2 separate regions of the Homo sapiens genome follow, and region 2 is linked to region 1. The links are contacts of gene promoters, found by promoter capture Hi-C in blood cells and fetal thymus (Javierre and others, 2016). All regions are on one chromosome and are shown on one strand. The core of a region is centred on a gene start or on the middle of the fragment in contact, and the rest is flanking DNA. Distances in the headings are between cores, read along the strand shown.

Region 1 (4,501 bases), core at 1,847-4,346:
TATACATGTATCCTCAGCCCTCCCATTCTGGTCCTGGTGACAATTTTCATTTCTCCCCCCGCCTCTTGAGCATAAAACTATCCATATATGTATCTCTGTCCTCTCTTGCCGTTCTGGACTTTGGTAGTTGCAGGTTGAGGCTTCCTTTCCTGTGTTGACCCCTTTGCACTTCCTACAAGTATATGGTTGATGATTCCATTGCTATTTCTGTGTGCAGTGGAACTGTCACCGCTGTTCCCAGACACACTTATTCTGGGTCTGGAGATCCGGGTGAAGGTCTCAGACTATGTACAAGACCGGATTCGGGCCCTACGCGCAGCTCCTGCAGGTGGCTTCCAGAACATCGCCTGTCTCCGTAGCAATGCCATGAAGCACCTTCCTAACTTCTTCTACAAGGGCCAGGTGGGGAGGGGCCCTGGTGGGTTAGGCTGGTAGGCAGGTGGGGGCATGGAGGCCAGGCTCTCACAACCCTGTTGGTGTGTGTCTGTCTCACAGCTGACAAAGATGTTCTTCCTCTTCCCCGACCCACATTTCAAGCGGACAAAGCACAAGTGGCGAATCATCAGTCCCACCCTGCTAGCAGAATATGCCTACGTGCTAAGAGTTGGGGTGAGTTGGGATCGGAGGGATGATGGGGTGAGTGGCCTACTCAGGGGCCCTTCACTAAGAATTCAGTGGGGGTGCATTTAGGGACTCACACCACCACTTCCTTCATCTGGCTGCTGACGTTGCATGCAGCCTCCTGTCTAGGGTGATTTTGCCTATGCAGGGGCTGGTGTATACCATAACCGATGTGCTGGAGCTACACGACTGGATGTGCACTCATTTCGAAGAGCACCCACTGTTTGAGCGTGTGCCTCTGGAGGACCTGGTGAGTAGGGGACCTAGAGGAGGTGGAGGCCCTTTCCAGAGTGGTTCTGTATTTGGACTTAACTCAGTGCCAGGAGGATGGGATAGGTGTCTAAGGGCCAGGGGCAGTCTGAACAGTGGGCAAGGACTTATTGGACCCTTCCTTCTCCCAGAGTGAAGACCCCGTTGTGGGACATCTAGGCACCTCAACTGAGGAGGGGAAGAAAGTTCTACGTAATGGAGGGAAGAATTTCCCAGCCATCTTCCGAAGAATACAAGATCCCGTCCTCCAGGCAGTGACCTCCCAAACCAGCCTGCCTGGTCACTGACTGCTTACTCTACCTTAGCTGGACCTCGTCTCCCAGGGATTAGAGAAAAGAGCAGGAGTCCTGGGTCTTCCCAGTTGAGACTGCTGGAGCTGAGACACAGTACTCTCTTAAAGAAGGTGGGGAGCTGCCCAGGGCAGAACCCACTGGTGTTCATGACTACCCCTGGCTCCTCTCACCTTGTCCCTCCACTGCCAACAGAAAACAAAGCAGCTGACTGAGATGGTCAAAGGACTTTGGACCATAGGGGATCTTTGGAAGGCTGTGGGGTCTTGCTCTTCCTTAGCACTCCTTTCTCCTTGTGAGATCTCTCCTCAGCTGGAATGAGGAATGTAGTCCATCTAAACTGCTTGCTAGGCTCAATTACCACTTCTGTTTGCTTTGTGGATCCTGGGATAACATGTATATGTGTACACATGCCTATTCTGCCATTTCTCAGGAAAGGGTGGAGTATGTATCATATGCCTTCTACCATCCTCCTGTCCTCTCCCTGCGTAAGACTTGACCTGGGGAATCTGTGTTCCCTAAGTGTTGTCTCTGGAGAGTCCTTGGGAAGGTGTGGGGGTGGAGACCCTCTCCTTTTTCACATTGACCTTCAATTCCAGAACTTCAGAGCTAGCTGACTGGCACAGAGCCTGATAGAGTTGCAGTGGGGAATGAGGGAGTAAGGAGCAGAGAGGTAAACTGTGGGAGATTCTTTTATTTTAATTTTTTTTAGAGACAGGCCCTCTCTCTGTTGCCTAGGCTGGAGTGCAGTGGTACAATCATAACTCACTGCAGCCTTGACCTCCCGGGCTCATGTAATCCACCTCAGCCTCTCAAGGCACTACAGGCATACGCCACCATGCCTGGCTAATTTTTGTATTTTTTGTAGAGACAGTTCCACTATGTTGCCCAGGCTGGTCTCAGACTCCTGAGCTCAAGCAGTCTGCCCACCTTAGCCTCCCAAAGTGTTGGGATTACAGTCATGAGCTGCCGTGCCCAGCCTAATTTTTAAACTTCTTCTGTAGAGACAGTCTTGCTATGTTGCTCAAGCTTGTCTCAACCTCCTGGCCTCATGCCATCCTCCTGCCTCAGCCTCCCAAAGTGCTGGGATTATAGGCATGAGCCACCACAGGATTCTGAGGCTAAAAGTAGAAAGGAGCTGCTAACCAGAAAGCCCCCCAGAGGAGACCGAGTCAGCTGGGGAATTAGAACATCCACATCCATTTAGCTCCTCTAACACCCCACAGACAATCTCTGAACTTAACTAATGTACAAAAAGTTTCATTTCTGCTTCTCAAGCCCCAAATTCCCATGTCTGGAAGGAGGGGGCTTGTATACCCAAGAGACCCCCTTATCCTCAAGAAAGAAAGATGGAGGTTCTAGGAGCCATTTTAGCCCATTAACCCACCTGCCATCTGCCCAGTATATGTTAGGTACAGGAGGAGGGGGAGGTGTGGCTAGTGCAGGAAAATAATGCAGAGAAGATACAACCCACTAAGCCAAGAATGTGGGGACAGTTACAGCTGTGCCTCCCCTGCTTCCCTTCCTGGAGGAGCTGAAAGATGGGGAATTCCTGAGGATGGGCCTAAAGGGGCTGGGCTCACTGGTAGAAGTGGGAATATCAGAGACTGACTAGTGTAGCTTGGTCACCTAGTCCCTACTAAAAAGCCTTATAGCCTTTCCTAGGATGAGACTTTGAGGCTCCTAGACAAAGGCACTCTCCCAGGAGGAAAATCTTAGGCCCTCCCTCCCATGAGGGTCATTGCAACATGAGACCCAAGGGAGTTGTGAAGTCAGCCCCAGCCCCGCCTACTGTTCCTGGGTGCTAATCCCCAGCACAGACCACTCAGGAGGAGGGATTGGCTGAGGAGCTTGGAGAGGGGGCGTCATCACCTCACCCAAAGGTTAAATAGGGGTTGAGATATGATGCTCAGGAGAAGCGCTTTCTTTCGCGAGCACCCTGAACCAGACCATGACCCAGACCCTCAAGTACGCCTCCAGAGTGTTCCATCGCGTCCGCTGGGCGCCCGAGTTGGGCGCCTCCCTAGGCTACCGAGAGTACCACTCAGCACGCCGGAGCTTGGCAGACATCCCAGGCCCCTCTACGCCCAGCTTTCTGGCCGAACTTTTCTGCAAGGGGGGGCTGTCGAGGCTACACGAGCTGCAGGTAGGAAGGGACGCCTTTCCCGAGACAGAGTGCTGGGGAAACTGGTTTTGACAGCGTCAGAAAGGACTGACTAGTGCAGAGCAAATGTGGGACAGCCAGAGAGAACGGATGCCCATGAAATAAGGAAAAGGCGAGTTGAGGCTGGGGGCGGTGTGGCTACACTCGGGCAGAGCCCGTCCCGACTCTTAGCAGAGGGCGCTGCGAAAGCGCCTTCTCGCTGTCCTGAGGTGTGGAGATCCTGCAGATAAAGTACAAGTGCGCGGGAGGGGGAGGCCGGAGTGGGCAGTACCCTCCGCCTGCTTGCGGCTTAAAGCTACATGGGTTCCTTTTCATTCACTGAGGACTCGTCCTGAGATGGACAGTCCAGACATGGAACTTTTAGAGATTTCTCCTCGACCGAGATGATCAGAGAGGTCCTGAATGTCTGCCTTGCACAAAGTTCCGGTTTTGCCCATCACACTCAAACTTTCTAGGGATGGGAAATGAGAGAGGAGGAGTTTGCAGTATCAAAGGCATACACTAGTTGGGCACCCGAGAAAGAGCAGAAGCTCCCTATTCCCAAGCCCAGTCAACGCCCTTGGCGTGGGCACAGGTCAAGCTGAAAGTCCCCGCCCAGGTATCCAAGTGTCCGCTGTGTCCGCTCCCCCAGGTGCAGGGCGCCGCGCACTTCGGGCCGGTGTGGCTAGCCAGCTTTGGGACAGTGCGCACCGTGTACGTGGCTGCCCCTGCACTCGTCGAGGAGCTGCTGCGACAGGAGGGACCCCGGCCCGAGCGCTGCAGCTTCTCGCCCTGGACGGAGCACCGCCGCTGCCGCCAGCGGGCTTGCGGACTGCTCACTGCGTGAGTCTTCTCTGCCCCCAGAAGCCCAGACGCCCTGCAGCGGCCCTCTCCTGCTGCGGGTCCCGAAACTATCAATCTGGGGGCATGGTGGGAGGTCGGCTGTCCCACTCTACCATTGGGCATCTTGGGGTTCCCATCCCAGTCTGCTTCACCCACACTCAGGTTGAGCCCCAACCTCACTCCCCGCCTACCTCCTTATCCTTTGAGGCCCGAATCCTGGGAACTGGGGGAACCGGAGGAATTGGGCTAGGGTACAAGGATCTGGATGGAATGAATGTAAGGTTCTGTGACTCAAGTTACCCGGGAACCCCGGCCCCTGAGGGCAGGAAATGAG
Region 2 (4,977 bases), core at 1,146-3,645, 63 kb after region 1:
TATACAACTTAGAAAGGAAGAAACCAAAACTGTTTCTCTTGCAGATGACATAATTATCTATACAGAAAATCCACAAGAATTTGTGAACTACTAAAAATGAAAGAGTTCAAAAAAGAGTTGCTGAGTGTAAGATCAATATGTAAAACCAATAATGTGACCATGTACCAGCAACAATCAGAAAACGGAATTTTTGGCCAGGCACAGTGGCTCATTGCCTGTAATCCCAGCACTTTAGTAGGCCGACGGTGGATCACATGAGGCCAGGAGTTTGAGACTAGCCTGGCCAATATGACAAAACCCCCGCTCTAAAAAAATTACAATAATTAGCTGGGCGTGGTGGTACGCACCTGTAATCCCAGCTACTCGGGAGGTTGAGGCAGAGAATCACTTGAACCTGGGAGGCAGAGGCTGCAGTGAGCCAAGATCGCACCCCAGCCTTGATGACAGAGCAAGACCCCATCTCAAAAAATAATAATAATAAAGAAAATGAAATTTGTAAAAGATGCTACTTAAAATAGCATCTAAAACTATAAGGTCCTGTATGTTTGAAATATATGCATACACAAACAAGACAAAAATAAAAACTATAAGGTATCTAGACTAATCTCACATAAGATGTAGAAGAACTTTTAGAGAAAATTAAAGCTTTACTAAAATATAGGACAACAAGTAAATGGAAACAAACACGTTCATAGTGTATGAAGACTTCATATTATAAAGTATCAATTCTCTTCAAATCAGTCTAAAATTAAATTCCAGCCAAAATCCCCAAAAGGAGTTTTAACAGAACTTGGCCAATGATAGCCCCAACAGTTTTGAAGAAAAAAGGGGAGTATATCCTACCAGATACCAAGATTTATGAAAAAGCTATAGTAATTAAAACAACGTGGTAATGACATAGGAATAGATAGACTATTGGAACAAAAGAGAAGCCAAGAAGAAAATGCACATATATTTGAGAACTTGGTAAATAACTGAGGAGGCATTACAAATCAGAGAGGAATGTATGGACTATTCAATAAACAGTGCTGGGGCAACTGTGGAAAATAGGTGTATCTAGGTCCTAACCTTATAACATACATTAAGATAAATTTTTACTGAATTGTAGTCCAAAGTATGAGAAACTCTATTCACACTTTTCTACTTTTTTAGAAACCTGAAAAAAACAGATGAATAGTAAATAGGAAAGGATTAAATAAAAGACATAAGATGTATAAGGTATAAAGAAAAAGACTGATAAGTTTGACTATATTGGAATTTAAATTTTTTAAATTAAAATTCATTTAAGACACTATAAACAAAACAAGAAGACAAAGTATAGATAGAAAGAATGTAGGTGACAAATAATTAAATCTGAAATTTATAAAGAATGCTTTCCTAACTTATTCTGTGAGGCTGGCATTACCATAATATCAAAGCTAGACAATACTACTACAAAATACTACAAGAAAACAATAGACTAATATCTTTTTTTTTTTGGAGATGGAGTCTTGCTCTGTCACCCAGGTTGGAGAGCAGTGGTGCAATCTTGGTTTGCTGCAACCTCCGTCTCCCAGGTTCAAGCGATTCTCCTGTCTCGGTTTCCCGAGTAGCTGGGATTACAGGTGTGCGCCACCACGCCCAGCTAATTTTTGTATTTTCAGTAGAGATGAGGCTTCACCATGTTGGCCAGGCTGGTCTCGAACTCCTGACCTCAGATGATCCACCTGCCTTGGCCTCCCAAAGTGCTGGGATTACAGGTGTGAGCCACCACTCCCGGCGACTAATATCTTTTATACATATAGATGCAAAATTCCTCAACTAAATGGTAGCAAACCAAATTCAGCAGCATATTAAAAGCATTATACATCATGATTTATGTTGGATTCACTCCAAGAATGCAAGGATGGTTCAACATAGGTAAATCAATGTCATATACATTAATAGAATGAAGGGGAAAAAACCCAAATGATCATCTCAACTGATGCAGAAAATGGACTTGATAAATTCAATAACCTTTTCATGTAAAAAAACAATCAACTAGGAATAGGAGGGAATGTCTTCAGTTATTGATAAAGTCCATATAAGAAAAACCCACAGTTAACGTCATACTCAATGGTGAAACATTGAAAGCTTCTCCCTTAAGATTAGGAACAAGACAAGGACAGCCATTCTTTTCATTTCTATTCAACATAATACTGGAAGTTTTAGAGTGATTAGGAATGAAAAAGAAATGAAAGGCATCCAATGGTGTTTTTTATAGAAAAAAAAAAATCTTAAAATTCACATGGAATGTCCAGGGATCCCAAATATCCATAACAATATTAAAAAAAGAACAAAGTTAGAGGACTCACATTTCCTGACTTAAATCTTAATACAAAGCTACTATAATCAAAACAGTGTGATACTGGCAAAAAGACAGACATATTTACCAATGGAATAGTATAGAAAGGCCAGAAATAAACCCTCACATATATGGTCAACTGATTTTTGGTAAGGATACCAAGAATATTCCATGGGGAAAGGACAGTCTTTTCAACAAACGATGCCAGGAAAACTGGATATCCATATTCAAAACAATGAAGTTGGACCATATGCAAAAATTACACCACATACAAAAATTAACTCAAAATCAGCAGCTGGGCACAATGGCACACCCCTATAATCCCACCTACTCAGAAGCTGAAGTAGGAAGCTTACCTGAGCCCAGGAGTTTGAGGCTAGCCTGGGCAACATAACGAGACCCCCATCTCTAAGAAAAAAAAATTAACCTCAAATGAATCAAAGACCTAAATTTAAGAGCTAAAACTATAAAACTCTTGGAAATCAAAATTAAAAGCTTTTGTGCACCAAAGGACACTGCTGATGCAGGAGAATCGCTTGAACCTGGGAGGCGGAGGTTGCAGTGAGCTGAGATCGCGCCATTACACTCCAGCCTGGGCAACAAGAGTGAAACTCTGTCTCCAAAAAACAAAGCAAAACAAAAGATAGTAAAAAGGCAACCACAGGATGGGAGAAAATACTTACAAATCATAGATCTGATAAGGGATTAATATTCAGAATTTATTACATAAAGAACTCTCACAACTCACCAACAAAAACCAACTCAATTCAAAAATGGGCAGAGGATTTGAATAGACATTTCTCCAAAAAAGATATACAAATGGTCACCAAGCATATGAAAAGATGTTCAACATCATTAATCACTAGGTAAATGCAAATCAAAAACCACTATGAGATACTACTTCACACCCATTAAGATGGCTATTACTGAAAAAAAAGAAAAAGAAAACAAAGGAAAATAAGTGATGGAGGTAGTGTGGAGAAACTGGAACCCTGTGCACTGCTACTAGGAATGTAAAATGATGCAACTGCTATGGAAAACAGTTTGGCAGTTCCTCAAAAAACTAAACCTAGAATTACCATAAGGCACATTCTACTCCTAGGTACAGACCCAAAAGAATTGAAAACAGGACTCAAACAGATACTTGTACACCAATGTTCATCGCAGCATTATTCACAGTAACCAAAAGATGAAAACCTATTTGTCCATCCATTGATAAATAGGTAAACAAAATGTATATACAGACAATGGAACATGATTAAGCCATAAAAAGAAATAAAATTCTGATATATGCTACAACATGGATGAACCTTGAAAACACCATGCTAAGTGAAATAAGCCAGACACAAAAGGACAAATCTTGTATGATTTCACTCATGTGAAGTACCTAGAACAGGAAACTCATACAGACAGAAAGTAGAACAGAGTCTGGGAGAGGGAGAAATAGGAGTTATTTTTGTTTGGGATGATGAAAAAAGTTTTGGAAATAGTAGTGATGGTGATAGAACACTGAATGTTTCCACTGAATTGTACACTTAAAGACTGTTAGAATGATAACTTTTAGGTTATATATTTTTTCAATCATTAAAAAAATTGAGGGCCAGGCATGGTGGCTCACACCTGTAATCCCAGCACTTTGGGAGGCCAAGGTGGACGGATCACAATGTAAGGAGTTCAAGACCAGCCTGGCCAACATGGTGAAACCCCGTCTCCACTAAAAATACAAAAATTAGCTGGGCATGGTGGCAGGCGCCTGTAGTCCCAGCTACTCAGGAGGCTGAGGCAGGACAATCGCTTGATCCTGGGAGGCGGAGGTTGCAGTGAGCCAAGATCACGCCATTGCACTCCAGCCTGGGCAACAAGAGTGAAACTCTATCTCAAAAAACAAAACAAAACAAAACAAACAAAAAATTGAATTCACCAATAACATACACTCCTGTAACCCAGTGATTCTACTTTCTAGGTATTTCCCTGGAGAAATTCTTGTACACTCACAATAAGACCTACATTGCAGCACTGTGTATAAGGGCATTAGAGTTGAAACCCAACTGTTTATCAACAGAGGAATGGGTAAGTAAGCAATGAAACACAATACAGACATTAAAATCACTCAACCAGGCCAGGCACGGTGGCTCACACCTGTAATCCCAGCACTTTGGGAGGCCAAGGTGGGTGGATCACTTGAGGTCAGGAGTTCAAGACCAGCCTGGCCAACATGGTGAAACCCCTTCCCTACTAAAAATATAAAAATTAACTGGGCGTGGTGGTGGGCACCTATAGTCCCAGCTACTCAGGAGGCTGAGGCAGCAGAATCGCTTGAACCCAGGAGGCCGAGGTTGCAGTGAGCCTAGATTGCACTACTGTATTCCAGCCTGGGTGACAGAGCGAGACTCTGTCTCAAAAAAAAAAAAAAAAAAAAAAAAAAAAAAATCACTCAACCAGAGTTCCATGTCATGCCATTGAATGGCAAACACACTGATCAGTGAAAAAAACAAGTTGATACTCCTGATGTATAATTTTAAAACACAAAACACTATCTATTGTCTGTAATATATATATCAGTAATAAAAATACAAAACAAACATAGTGAGGGTTGTGGTTGTTTCTGGCGGGAGGGAGAGTGACTAAATATGAAGGTGGGCTTTAGCTATTAG

The links. The method cuts DNA at HindIII sites, captures the fragments that hold promoters and counts their contacts. A CHiCAGO score of 5 or more calls a contact.
Region 2: a contact is called between a fragment that was not itself captured here and the fragment with the promoter of CYP27B1 in region 1, in 1 of 17 cell types (naive B cells). The highest score is 5.0, in naive B cells.

Annotation. Positions count from the first base shown.
Region 1 is chr12:57,765,673-57,770,173 of GRCh38, reverse strand. It overlaps CYP27B1 (cytochrome P450 family 27 subfamily B member 1), which reads left to right and starts at 3,096. Exons shown (of 9, transcript NM_000785.4): 1 at 3,096-3,327; 2 at 3,977-4,167. The coding sequence starts at 3,133. It overlaps METTL1 (methyltransferase 1, tRNA methylguanosine), which reads left to right. Exons shown (of 6, transcript NM_005371.6): 3 at 218-402; 4 at 496-609; 5 at 770-871; 6 at 1,023-1,703. The coding sequence ends at 1,178. The HindIII fragment of the contact is 11,205 bases long and covers 2,213-4,501 here.
Region 2 is chr12:57,701,039-57,706,015 of GRCh38, reverse strand. All of the region lies in intron 5 of OS9 (OS9 endoplasmic reticulum lectin), which reads right to left. Among named protein-coding and RNA genes, the nearest start is that of OS9, 9.4 kb to the right of the region's middle. The HindIII fragment of the contact is 562 bases long and covers 2,115-2,676 here.